Linked DNA regions of Homo sapiens: region 2 is linked to region 1. Evidence: promoter capture Hi-C in 16 types of primary human blood cells and fetal thymus (Javierre and others, 2016). All regions are on one chromosome and are shown on one strand. The core of a region is centred on a gene start or on the middle of the fragment in contact, and the rest is flanking DNA. Distances in the headings are between cores, read along the strand shown. Region 1 holds the start of NCOA3 (nuclear receptor coactivator 3). Region 2 overlaps LINC01754 (long intergenic non-protein coding RNA 1754).

Region 1 (6,250 bases), core at 2,184-4,683:
GGGAGGCCAAGGCAGGTGGATTACCTGAGGTTGGGAGTTCGAGACCAGCCTGGCCAACATGGTAAACTTTGTCTCTACTAAAAATACAAAAATAGCCGGGCGTGGTGGTGCGCACCTGTAATCCCAGCTACTTGGGAGGCTGACACAGGAGAATTGCTTGAACCCAGGAGGCAGAGGTTGCAGTGAGCCAAGATCGCGCCGCTGCACTCCAGCCTGGGCAACAGAGCAAATTTCCTTCTCAAAAAAAAAAAAAAAGAAAGAAAAGAAAAAAAAAAAACGCCCCTGCCCGCAAAAAAAAAAAAAAAAAAAAAAAAAACCAAAAACCCAAAGCCATTTATTTTAACCATCAATTTGGGATAGGACAATAGCAGAGTTTTTAAATCTTACCCTATTGTCCAAACTAAAATTTATTTTTTAATTTTCTTTTAAAGACTTTTCAATTACAGTACTCCAAGTTAAAATGAATTATTCCAGAATCATACTGCTAATGCACAAGACAGAATTTTTTTTTTTTTTGAAACAGAGTCTCATTCTGTTGCCCAGGCTGGAGTGCAGTGGTGCAATCTCGGCTCACTGCAACCTCCGCCTCCCGGGTTCAAGCCATTCTTCTGCCTCAACCTCCTGAGTAGCTGGAACTACAGGTGCTCGCCACCACGCCCGGCTAATTTTTTGTATTTTTAGTAGTGAAGGGGTTTCACCATCTTTGCCAGGCTGTTCTCAAACTCCTGACCTCGTGATCCACCAGCCTTGGCTTCCCAAAGTGCTGGGATTACAGGCCTGAGCCACTGCAGCCCGGCAGAAAGAACTGAATTCGTTAAAAAAAAAAAAAAAAAAAAAAAAAGACACACTTAGCTTTTATCTTTAATGTAATGTCCCTGCAAGAAAGCTTATTTCAAAAGACCAGTCAAGAAGACATTAGTAAGCAACCATTTTTAAACTACTTTTTATTTGCATATCGCCTAGAAAAAGGGTCTCACGTACAACAGTACTTCACTCCTTACTGAATTCTATTTTATTTGCTCGGGAGGTGCGTGGCACTTTTTAGAAATAATTTTTATACAGAGAAGGAAATGCACAGCATAATCATTTTCAAAATACAGTTAAATTATTTAATATAATCTTTAATAACCTAGCTCTAATATCACTGAATTTCCTTAGCAAATTGTTAGTGTTGGCAAGCTGTTAAAACAACCATTCTAAAATATAAAAATATAAATCTCGCTATTGATGCTTAAGTTGTACATTTTCAAAGCCTTTGTAATTAAATATCTTATGGCAGAAATATTTCCTATAACTGCTCTAGAAATATTACAGCCTCCCGCTTAGTCCACAATCCCCATCTTCTATATGCCAAAAGCTGGTATATGCCTCTTATTTCAAATGCTGATTGGACAATTAAGTCATTTCCATCTATACATAAAATGCCCCTATAATTTAGGATCACAGGCAATTTAGATTTCTGCTCATTGAAATGCAGAACCTGAAGCAACCTCTAGTGACAGGAGCTATAGTGTTCAATATCATTTTACATGTTACAAGCAGAGGATTCATTGTACATACAAACAATGAACCCTGGCAGAGTTCTTTATCCTAAAGCCCCACAGATTGTTATTTAACGGTATTAATAGATAAGGTGACATAAGCAGTAAGTTCTGAAGAGCTTTTTCCAATAGCTATCAACATTTTTTTTAAGAGAGCAAAAACAGTATTCCCACATTTTCTGTTTCTTCTGTTCATTTTATTTCCCTGCTTTTGGTATCCAACAGAAGTGGTTTCAAATGAAAATCTTAAAATAATTATTCCAAAGACCAAGGATATTCTAAAAACCAGTAACAGTCTTTGCCTCTGAGAAGGGGAAACTGTAGGGTTTGGCGTGAAAGAGAGATTCACTTTTCAATGTGTTTGTACCTTTCCAATTGGATATCATTCGGTAGAACCATATTCTAAATGAGCATACATTTAAAATATTTTCAAGAACAAACAATTCACAAACTTACAGGTTTCCATTAACATTTTCGTTTGTGCAGCATTCGCTGAAGACCTAAGATTTTTATTCCTCCAATCACCTTCTCAACAACCTGCTGCAACAAATACTGAAGCTTTTTTGCAGCCAGGGATCAGTTAGGTGGATCCGAGGCCAGGCATTTAAATCAAAGAGATGCAGCAATCTTACTCAATACTACTACCACTCTCACGCATCTCATTCAACTCCATTTAAAACCACTGCAGCAAGACAGCTGGTACTCTCCTTCCTGTTTCTTTACCGTACAGGCTTAATAACAAAAACAGGTTGGTTTTGAAGCCCTGCTCAAATATTGCAAAAAGGAAGTCTTCGCATTCGGGAGGGGGAAAAAAGTTTCGACTTCGAGAGAATCTCATAGCTTCCGTGTCATTCCATTTGGGAATCCCAGATCCTGCCAGTGAGGTAGATGCTCGCTCTCTCGGTTAACTTTTCCACCCTAGATGCCCTCAAACTGCCTAGGAAGCAACTAAGTCTCCCAACGACCCATGGCTAGTTTTGTTAAGGCAGGTACAAGACAAGCAGTTTATTTAAACCATGACGAACTGGGTCGATGTTCATAAAATGAGAGATGGGGAGAGCAAAAAAAAAAAAAAAGTAGTAATAAAGACAGCCAAACTCCTAATTTTATCAACCAACTTCCCACTTGCCATTTCCCAGCCTTCACACCAGAGGTAGTAAAACGCCTTTTTACCGAGAAAACTAAGAAGCTACCCGAGCCCAACATGAAAATTCCGCGGACAATTCGTGTTAAAATATTTTTTAAATGCCCAAGTGAGGAGGAAACACAGCAACCAAATCTCACCCGGCTGGGAGGCTGGGGTGGGGGGGGTCCCCGCGGCTTTTCCCTCCCGTGCGTCCCAGAAGCTGCTAAGGAGCCGGGGCAGCAGGAGGACGACGCGGGGAGCTTTCAAAAGGGCTGGGGGAGGCAAGAGGAAGAAAAAACTTTAGGGACAGAAGGGGAAAGTGGGCCCCTGCAGTCCCCCCGCAAACTCCTCGGGTGACCCCTCCGCGCGGGGACCCCCTCGGATCCCCAAGCGGACTGCCACCCAGCTTCGTCTCAGCTCCTACCGCCGCGGGCCGCCCCCCGGGCTGAGGGGAAGCGGCGCGGCCCCGACACCCCGAAACTACCTCAGCGCGTCCCCCGGCCGGCGCGCCCCTCAGTGCCTTGGCAGATCTGAAGCCGCTGGCTCTCGCAGCCTGGGGAACTCGCCCCTCTTCCCTCCGCCTCGCACTCCACCCCCTCGCCCGCCACCGCCTCCTCCTTTATCTCCACTCACCTCCCGCCGCCATTTTCCTCGCAGCTCAGCTTTAAATCGGAAACTCGCCGCTCAGCCCGCAGCCGCCGCCGGCCGCCACCGACTAAGCCGCAGCCGCTGCCGTCGCTGTGGAGCGGCTGAGACAGCAGCAGCTAAAGTCGCCGCACGGGGGCCACTGGGATATGTAGTCCCGAGGCCACGCCCAGCACTACCGGTCCCAGGGGGCCTTGCGCGGCCGGCCTAGGGTTCCAGCGACCCCCACCCTGGCTTCCGCGGCGGAGGGCGTGGCGACGTGGGCTCGTGCGGCCGCTTTCGCCCAGCATCGACTGGGAGCTCCCTCGGGATCCGGAGAACCGGAATGCAGTCCTAGCCCTGCCCTTAATTTTTTTCATATTTGCCTTCGTCCAGTAATACCTAACATTTGTGGAGCGTTTCTGGTATGCCAAGCACGGATCCTCAAAACAAGCATCCGGTAGGGACCATGATCATCCTCATTTTTCAGATGAGCGAACTGAGGCACAAGGTCGGAAGCCACGAGGCTGTTCCTTAGCTGCTAAAGTCACTGGGTGAAATGTTGTTGGGCAGCAGTATATTCAGGGTATATTTAGTCCCGAAGTATCATCCCACAGCGTATTTATGACTTACAATAAAGAACAGCTTGCTTTACAATGGAAAGATCTGGCAGGCACCCCCTTACCAAGTGATCGAACTTAGCACCACCAATAATGGGTCAGGACTGTTGTTATGTGTCTCCTAATATGATGCAGTGGGGAAAGCATATTGCTACCTCTGTCGTATTCTTGCCACATACACACAAAAAGCTTACTTGAAAAAATAAACGAATTCAGAATGTGGGACATTCTACACAACATCTAGCCTGGAGTCTTTTAAAATATGACAGCATGAAAGAGGTGAAAACCAAAAGCAATAGGTGAGACTTGATTGGATTCAGGATGATTTTTTTATGTAAAAAGAATTTGGGGGGCAATTTCAATGTGGACTGTATGTTAGATAATATTGAGTCAGTATTAGATGTGTTGAGTGTAAATAAAATAGAATAATCTGACCACTTACCACCTCCACGGTCAGCACCATCATTTCCCACCTGGACCACTGCAACAGCCTCCTCAGTGTTCTGCCTGCTTCCACTCTTTCCTCTTAGAGTCTATACTCAACACAGCAGCCAGAGGAATCCTGGTAAGAACCAAGTCAGTCTCTGTCCCTCCTGCAAAATTCTTGCAGTAACCTGCAAAGCCCCATACAGCCCGTCTCTTGCCCTGCCCTTCCCTCTCTAAACTCATCACCTTCTTCTCTTCCACTCACTTCTGTAACTCAGCTACAATGGACTCGGCCTCTCCAACGTGCTTAGCACACTCTGGCCTTAAAGATCGTGCACTTGCTATTTCCTCTGCCTAGAACAGTATTTTCCCAGAAAATTCAAATAACCCATTCCCTAATCTCCCCATGGTCATTGTCCAAATGTCACTTATTCAGTGAGGCTTTCCCTAACTGCTCTATTTTAACTTCCTGCCCACTCTGATCCCAGCTTTCCCTACTCCTATTCCTTTCTTCATTTATTTTCAGAGCATGAATTATCATTAAAATCATGATATATTTCTGTTTACTTATGTTATTTAAAATATCTCATTTTGGCTGGGCGCGGTGACTCACGAATGTAATCCCAGCACTTTGGGAGGCCAAGGCAGGCAGATCACCTGAGGTCGGGAGTTCAAGACCAGCCTGACCAATATGGAGAAACCCCGTCACTACTAAAAATACATAATTAGCTGGGCATGGTAGCACATGCCTGTAATCCGAGCTACTCAGGAGGCTGAGGCAGGAGAATCACTTGAACCTGGGGGCAGAGGTTGCGGTGAGCCGAGATGGCACCATTGCACTCCAACCTGGGCAACAAGAGTGAAACTCCGTCTCAAAAAAAAAAAAAGTAAAAATTAAAAAATTAAATATCTCATTTCTGGGCCGGGCACGGTGGCTCACACCTGTAATCCCAACACTTTGGGAGGCCAAGGTGGGCAGATCACCTGAGGTCAGAAGTTCCAGACCAGCCTGCCCAACATGGCGAAACCCCGTCTCTACTAAAAATACAAAAGATTAGCTGGGCATGGTGGCAGGCGCCTATAATCCTGGCTACTCGGGAGGCTGAGGCAGGAGAATCACTTGAACCCGGGAGGCAGAGGTTGCAGTGAGCCGAGATCGCGCCACTGCACTCCAGCCTGGGCCACAAGAGCGAAACTCTGTCTCAAAAAAATATATATATATATATTTCCACCAGGGCACAGTGGCTCAGGCCTGTAATCCCAACACTTTGGAAGGCCGAGAGATTGCTTGAGCCCAGGAGTTCAAGACCAGCCTTGGCAACAAAGCAGATACCCAGTCTCTACAAAAAATTTTAAAATTAGCTTGGTGTGGTGGCGCCTGCTTGTATTCCCAAGTACTCAGGAGGCTGAGGTGGGAGGATTGCCTGAGTAGGGGAGGTCAAGGCTGCAGTGAGCCATGCTTGCACCACTGCACTCCAGCCTGGGCGACAGAGTGAGACTCCATTTCAAATATATATATATATAAAATAAAAATAATAAAATAAAATACTGCGTTAGATGCTGAGAACCCAGAGATGAAATGCTCACACGTGTATGGCCTTTCACCTCAGCAACTGCACCTGTCTCCTAGCTACTCTCCTTGCTTCTCTCCCTTTCATCCTCTACAGGGCACTCCCAATACAGTAGCCAGAGGGATCCTTGAAAAATCATGTATTAAATCATGTTACTTCCAACCTAGGCCGGGTACGGTGGCTCACGCCTGTAATTCCAGCACTTTGGGAGGGCAAAGCAGGCAGATCACTTGAGGTCAGGGTTTTGAGGCCAGCCTGACCAATATAGTGAAACCCTGTCTCTACTAAAAATACAAAATTAGCTGGGCATGGTGGCACACACCTGTAGTCCTAGCAACTTGG
Region 2 (6,250 bases), core at 956-3,455, 120 kb after region 1:
CACCTGTAATCCTAGCACTTTGGGAGGCCCAGACAGGAGGATTGCTTGAGCTGGGGAGTTCAAGACCAGCCTGGGCAACATAGCAAGACCCTGTCTCTATAAACAAAAAATAAAACAAAATAAGTTGATTTAATAAAAACTGTCGAATTAATAACAGGGTAAGTGGTTCTTGGATATGAAGAGATACATCCCACTCCATCATCAACAGTCTAGTCTAGGCCAGGCGTGGTGGCTCACACTTGTAATCCTAGCACTTTGGGAGACTGAGGTGGGAGGACTGGCTGAGGTCTGGAGTACAAGACCAGCCCAGGCAACATAGCAAGACCCCATCTCTACAAAAAAAATTTTTTTAACAACTCAAGCTGGGCGCAGTGGTTCATGCCTGTAATCTTAGCACTTTGGGAGGCCAAGATAGGAGGATCCCTTGAGCCCAGGAGGTCGACACCAGCCTGGGCAACATAGAGAGACCCCATCTCTCTCTTTTTTGGGGGTGAGGGGGACGGAGTCTTGCTCTGTCACCCAGGCTGGGGTGCAGTGGTATGATCTTGGCTCACTGCGACCTTCGCTTCCTGGGTTCAAGTGATTCTCATGCCTCAGCCTCCCAAGTAGCTGGGATTACAGGCCACCATGCCCAGCTAATTTTTGTATTTTTAGTAGAGAGGGGGTTTCACCATGTTGGCCAGGCTGGTCTCCAACTCCTGACCTCTACCTCCCAAAGTGGTGGGATTACAGCATGAGCCACCACGCCCAGCACCATATTTATTTTTATTTTTTTTCTTTCTTTGAGACAGTTTCATTCTTGTCGCCCAGGCTGGAGTGCAATGGCACAATCTCGGCTTGCTGGAACCTCAGCCTCTCAGGTTCAAGCAATTCTCCTGCCTCAGCCCCCCAAGGAGCTGGGACTACAGGCGCGTGCCACCATGCCCAGCAAATTAGTAGAGATGGGGTTTCACCACGTTGGCCAGGCTGGTCTCAAACTCCTGACCTCAGGTAATACACCCCACTAGGCTTCCCAAAGTGCTGGGATTACAGGCGTGAGTCACTGTGCCTGGCCCTTATTTTTTTAATTTAAAAAAAAAAAAAGGCCGGGCGCAGTGGCTCACGCCTGTAATCCCAGCACTTTGGGGGGCCAAGGCAGGCGGATCACAAGGTCAGGAGATCGAAACCATCCTGGCTAACATGGTGAAACCCCGTCTCTACTAAAAATACAAAAAACTAGCCGGGCGTGGTGGCGGGCACCTGTAATACCAGCTACTCGGGAGGCTGAGGCAGGAGAATGGCGTGAACCCAGGAGGCGGAGCTTGCAGTGAGCCAAGATGGCGCCACTGCACTCCAGCCAGGGCAACAGAGCGGGAGACTCCGTCTCAAAAAAAAAAAAAAAAGAACTCAAACATGTTAGAGAAACACACCCACGCCCCGGGGGCTTTGCTCTTACCATTCTCTCTGCCTGGAACACTTCTTCACCAGATACCTGCTCTTTCTCCTCACTCCGGGTTTTGCTTAAGTGTCATCTCAATGACATCTCTTTATTAAGTGTCATCTATTTTCCATGTGTTCTACCTATTGATGTATTCATTCATTCACTGTTCTAGGGCAGGAGGCATCCGTGAAGGCAAAGATTCTGTCTGTTCTGCTGATTTCGGTGGTCCCAGCACCCAGAATAGTACTGCACGCAAAAGCTTATCTGTTGAATGAATAATGTGTGAACGAATGCACTAGGTTATGAATCGGGCACCGGCATTCAGGGAGCACGCCGGACTCTCATCACAACACTATAGCTTTAGTACTGAAAATTCCTCCGCCGGGCGCGCTGGCTCATACCTGTGATCCCAGCACTTTAGGAGACCAAGGTGGGTGGATCACCTGAGGTCAGGAGTTTGAGACCAGCCTGGCCAAACGTGGCGAAACCCCGTCTCCACTAAAAATACAAAAATTAGCTGGTGCACGCCTGTAATCCCAGCAACTCAGGAGGCTGAGGCAGGAGAATCACTTGAACCCGGGAGGCAGAGGTTACAGTGAGCCGAGATCACGACATTGCACTCCAGCCTTGGCGACAAAAGTGAAACACCGTCTGAAAGAAAAAAAAAAAAAAAGAAAGAAAATTCCTCAGCAGAAGTCTTTGGGAAGGTCAAAGGTGAAACTCCGAATTGTTCTCAGCTGTGCTTTAACCATTCCAGCCCCCTGAGAGCCCCAGGGCTCGGTCCGCCGCCCTTCCTTTACATTCCTGAGCTCTGAAGTCCCCACCTCCTTTCAGCACCCTGAGTTCTTTCCTAGGATGGAATGGACTGAATAATATTTTCCATGTTAGTGATGGGGTCCAAGAATGTCCATGACGCATGAGACCAGAGCTCCCAGCCCGGAGAATGGAACGCTGCTCTCTCTGGAGCCACCAGGGGGCGCCATTTCTCCACGGAGTTTCGCGAAGGCCGCGCCGCAAGAAGCTGCTCTCCCAGCAGGAGGCGAGGCTCTTTGCCTGTTGCAGGGTTGGGTATGTCGGCAGGATTTGGAAGTGCTCAAGCAGGTGGTGGGAGAGCTTGCTTTGATGCTCCCAAAGAAAGTGTTGCCCAGGTTCTCTCCTGCTTGTAATTAGACCTGTGTTCCACCCCAGACTTTGGCTGCAGCTGCGTGACCCTGGACAATTCACTGTGAATGTTGCAGCCGTGGTAACCTCATCCATAAGAACACTGGGACCCCATGGGATTGTGTGTGGACACAGTGAGATGAAAGCTTGCAGGCACCAACCATTGCTCTGAAATGGGAGCCAGTGATGGGATCAGAGGTTGTTAATTATACTAGTAATCAACTGAGCCCTGGTTCTCAAAGCCTGTTCCCTGGATCAGCAGCAGCACCTGCTAAATTCTGATGGCGTTTGATAGAAATGCAAATTCTCAGCCCCACTTCCCCCAAAGTCCTTGATTGAATTTATTAATCTGCCGGGTGTGATGGCTCACGCCTGTAATCCCAGCACTTTGGGAGGCCGAGGCGGATGGATCACCTGAGGTTAGGAGTTCAAGACTAACCTGGCTAATGTGGTGAAACCCCCGTCTCTACTAAAAATACAAAAATTAGCTGGGCGTGGTGGCACCTGTAATACAAAAATTAGCTGGGCGTGGTGGCGGGCCCCTGTAATCTCAGCTACTTAGGAGGCTGAGGCAGGAGAATCGCTTGAACCAGGGAGGCTAAAGTTGCAGTGAGCCGAGATCATGCCATTGCACTCCAGCCTAGGCAATAAGAGTGAAACTCTGTCAAAAAAAAAAAAAAAAAAAAAAAAGAGTTTCTTAATCAAAAGGCCTGAGAATTTCAAGAAATGCAGATTCTCAAATCTTTCAACTGAGAAACTTGGTGGGGGTGAGTCCCTCAATCAGTGTTTAGCAAGCTGCCCACGTGCTTCTGATGCCTGCTCAAGTCTGCTTAGAGCAGTAGGGACTTCTCCTGTAGGGGTTTGGAACACAATACCCCAAATTACAGCACTTTGGCAAACTGAGCATTTGAAGCTGAAGGAATTTGAGGAAACCATAGAAGCAGGAAGGTCACTCTCTGACCTTCTCCTGCCTTCCTCTTCTGCAGTGGGCCACTCAAGGTTTCTCTGACCTGCCTCTCCTGAAAGTAGGCCCCAAGCCCCTCATTCCAGAGGGGGTCCGGTCCTGTCCGTGGAGACCATGAAGACTAAACTCACAGGCCTTGCTAAGTTCCCACTGTGTACATCATTGGATCAAACCCTTTTGTCCTCCTGTGACACTGCTGCTTGACTGTCCATAAAAACACAGGTGCCCTGGGTCACGGTTCTTCACTTTGGAAGACTCCTGAGTCACTCAAAACTTGGGTTAAATAAATTTGTCATGCTTATCTCTTGTTAATCTGTCTTTAGGGGTGTTAGCCATGAACCTTGTGATGGGTGAGGAAAAGGTACTTTTTCTTCCCTACAGCCCTAAATCATAGTTAGTTAGGAGTGGAGCTGAAATTGAAAAAAATTAAAAAATTAGATTTACTGCCTGCAAAGCTACAACCCAGGATATGGTGTGCGTGTATATCCCATTAGTGATGGACATGCCAAAATGCCTCCCCTCCCCCTGCTTTTTTTTTTTTTTTTGAGACGGAGTCTCACTCTGTTGCCCAGGCTGTAGTGCAGTTGTGCCATCTCAGCTCACTGCAACCTCCTCCTCCCGGGTTCAAGCGATTCTGCCTCAACCTCCCAGGTAGCTGGGATTACAGGCGTTTGCCACTGTGCCGGGCCAAAATGCCTCTTTTTGTTCTAGTTTAAACTTGTAGTTTTCTAGAACAGTGGCGCTCAACCGTGGCTACACATTAGAATCAGCTGGGGCTCTTTAAAAACTATATCAACCTGGGTGCGGTGGCTCACACCTATAATCCCAGCATTTTGGGAGGCCGAGGCGGGTGGATCACTTGAGGTTGGGAGTTTGTGACCAGCCTGGCCAACATGGTGAAACCCCGTCTCTACTAAAAATGCAATAAAATTAGCCGGACATGGTGGCAGGTGCTTATAATCCTAGCTACTTGGGAAGCTGAGGGAGGAGAATTGCTTGAACCTTTGAGGCGGAGGTTGCAGTGAGCGCAGATCGCACCATTGCATTCCAGCCTGGGTGACAGAGCGAGACTACAACTCAAAGAAACAAAAAAAAAAAACAACAAAAATCAAATGCTTGGTCGTCTCCCCAGACCAATTAATCCACAATTTCTGGAAGACCCTGTGCTTTTATAAATTTTTTTTTTTTTTTTTTGAGATGGAGTCTTGCTCTGTCGCCCAGGCTGGAGTGCAGTGACATGATCTCAGCTCACTGCAACCTCCGCCTCCCAGGTTCAAGCAATTCTGCCTCAGCCTCCTGAGTAGCTGGGATTACAGGCGCAGGCAACCACACCCGGCTAATTTTTATATTTTTAGTAGAGACGGGATTTCACCATGTTGGCCAGGCTGGTCTTGAACTCCTGACCTCAAGTGATCCACCCGCCTCAGCCTCCCAAAGTGCTGGGATTACAGGCGTGAGCCACCTCACCTGGCTTTTTTTTTTTTTTCTTTTAGAGAGAGGGTCTCATTCTGTTGCCTGGGCTGGAGTGCAGTGGAGTGGCATGATCATAGCTCACTAGTAGCCTTGAACTCCTGGACTCAATTGGTCCTCCCACCTTGGCCTCCCAAAGTGCTGGGATTACAGCATGAGCTACCACTCCTGACCAGAGCAAAGTCTTTTTTTTTTTTTTTGAGACGGAGTCTCGCTCTGTCGCCCAGGCTGGAGTGCAGTGGTGCGATCTCGGCTCACAGCAACCTCTGCCTCTCAGGTTCAAGTGATTCTCCTGCCTCAGCCTCACAAGTAGCTGGGATTACAGGCGCCCACCACCACGCCCGGCTAATTTTTTTTTTTTTCCTCAAGACGGAGTCTTGCTCTGTAGCCCAGGCTGGAGTGCAATGGCTTGATCTCAGCTCACTGCAACTTCCACCTCCCAGCTTCAAAAGATCCTCCTGCCTCAGCCTCCCAATTAGCTGGGATTACAGGTGCCTGCCATCATGCCCGGCTAATTTTTTGTATTTTTAGTAGAGACAGGGTTTCACCATGTTAGCCAGGCAGGTCTCGAACTCCTGACCTCATGATCCGCCCGCCTCAGCCTCCCAAAGTGCTGGGATTACAGGCGTGAGCCACCACGCCCAGCCCCATGGATACGTTTCTATGCCATTTTAATTATTTACTACATGCATGTTTTTCTATTTCCTAGAATTTTTTTCAGGTTAATATGCTGTATGCATTATGTTTTGGTCAGGAAGTGGTAAGGTCTTGGCCCTCAAGCTAACAGGGTGCACAGCTCTTGAAAGGTTGGAAATTCTGCATCTGTTCTCTGCTGAATGATGTCAGCAGAAGCTGTGCGACCTTGAGTTTTTATTTCAGTGGTGGTGTTATAGAAATGCTCAGTTGGCAATCACCCTGATCCTTAGAAGGCACTTCACAGTTTACAAAGCTGAGAGGCTCTTCACTTTTCATGATCTCCTCTATCCTTGACAGCAGTGTCATGGGGTAACTGGGGAAGGCCGGAACTTGTCCAAGGTCACACCTGGAAAATGCCCAAGCTGGGCTTCGACCCACCTTTCCTTCTCTGCTCCTGTTACGTGGCTTGAAGGAGCAATTTTCTTTTTCTTTTATTTATTTTTTGAAATAAAGTCTGGCTCTTTCACCCACGCTGGAGTGCAGTGGTGAGATCTCAGCTGACTGCAAACTCCACCTCCCGGATTCAAGCAATTCTCCCT

The links. Contacts are between HindIII fragments. The CHiCAGO score rates a contact against its expected background, and 5 or more counts as called.
Region 2: a contact is called between a fragment that was not itself captured here and the fragment with the promoter of NCOA3 in region 1, in 7 of 17 cell types (naive B cells, total B cells, activated CD4 T cells and 4 more). The highest score is 20.7, in naive B cells.

Annotation. Positions count from the first base shown.
Region 1 is chr20:47,499,070-47,505,319 of GRCh38, reverse strand. It overlaps NCOA3 (nuclear receptor coactivator 3), which reads right to left and starts at 3,433. Exons shown (of 23, transcript NM_181659.3): 1 at 3,301-3,433. RefSeq lists a silencer at 3,074-3,193 and a cis regulatory region at 4,445-4,517. The HindIII fragment of the contact is 2,001 bases long and covers 2,102-4,102 here.
Region 2 is chr20:47,380,362-47,386,611 of GRCh38, reverse strand. It overlaps LINC01754 (long intergenic non-protein coding RNA 1754), which reads left to right. Exons shown (of 3, transcript NR_146496.1): 3 at 1,593-3,846. Among named protein-coding and RNA genes, the nearest start is that of ZMYND8, 27 kb to the right of the region's middle. RefSeq lists an enhancer at 2,365-3,217. The HindIII fragment of the contact is 1,048 bases long and covers 1,682-2,729 here.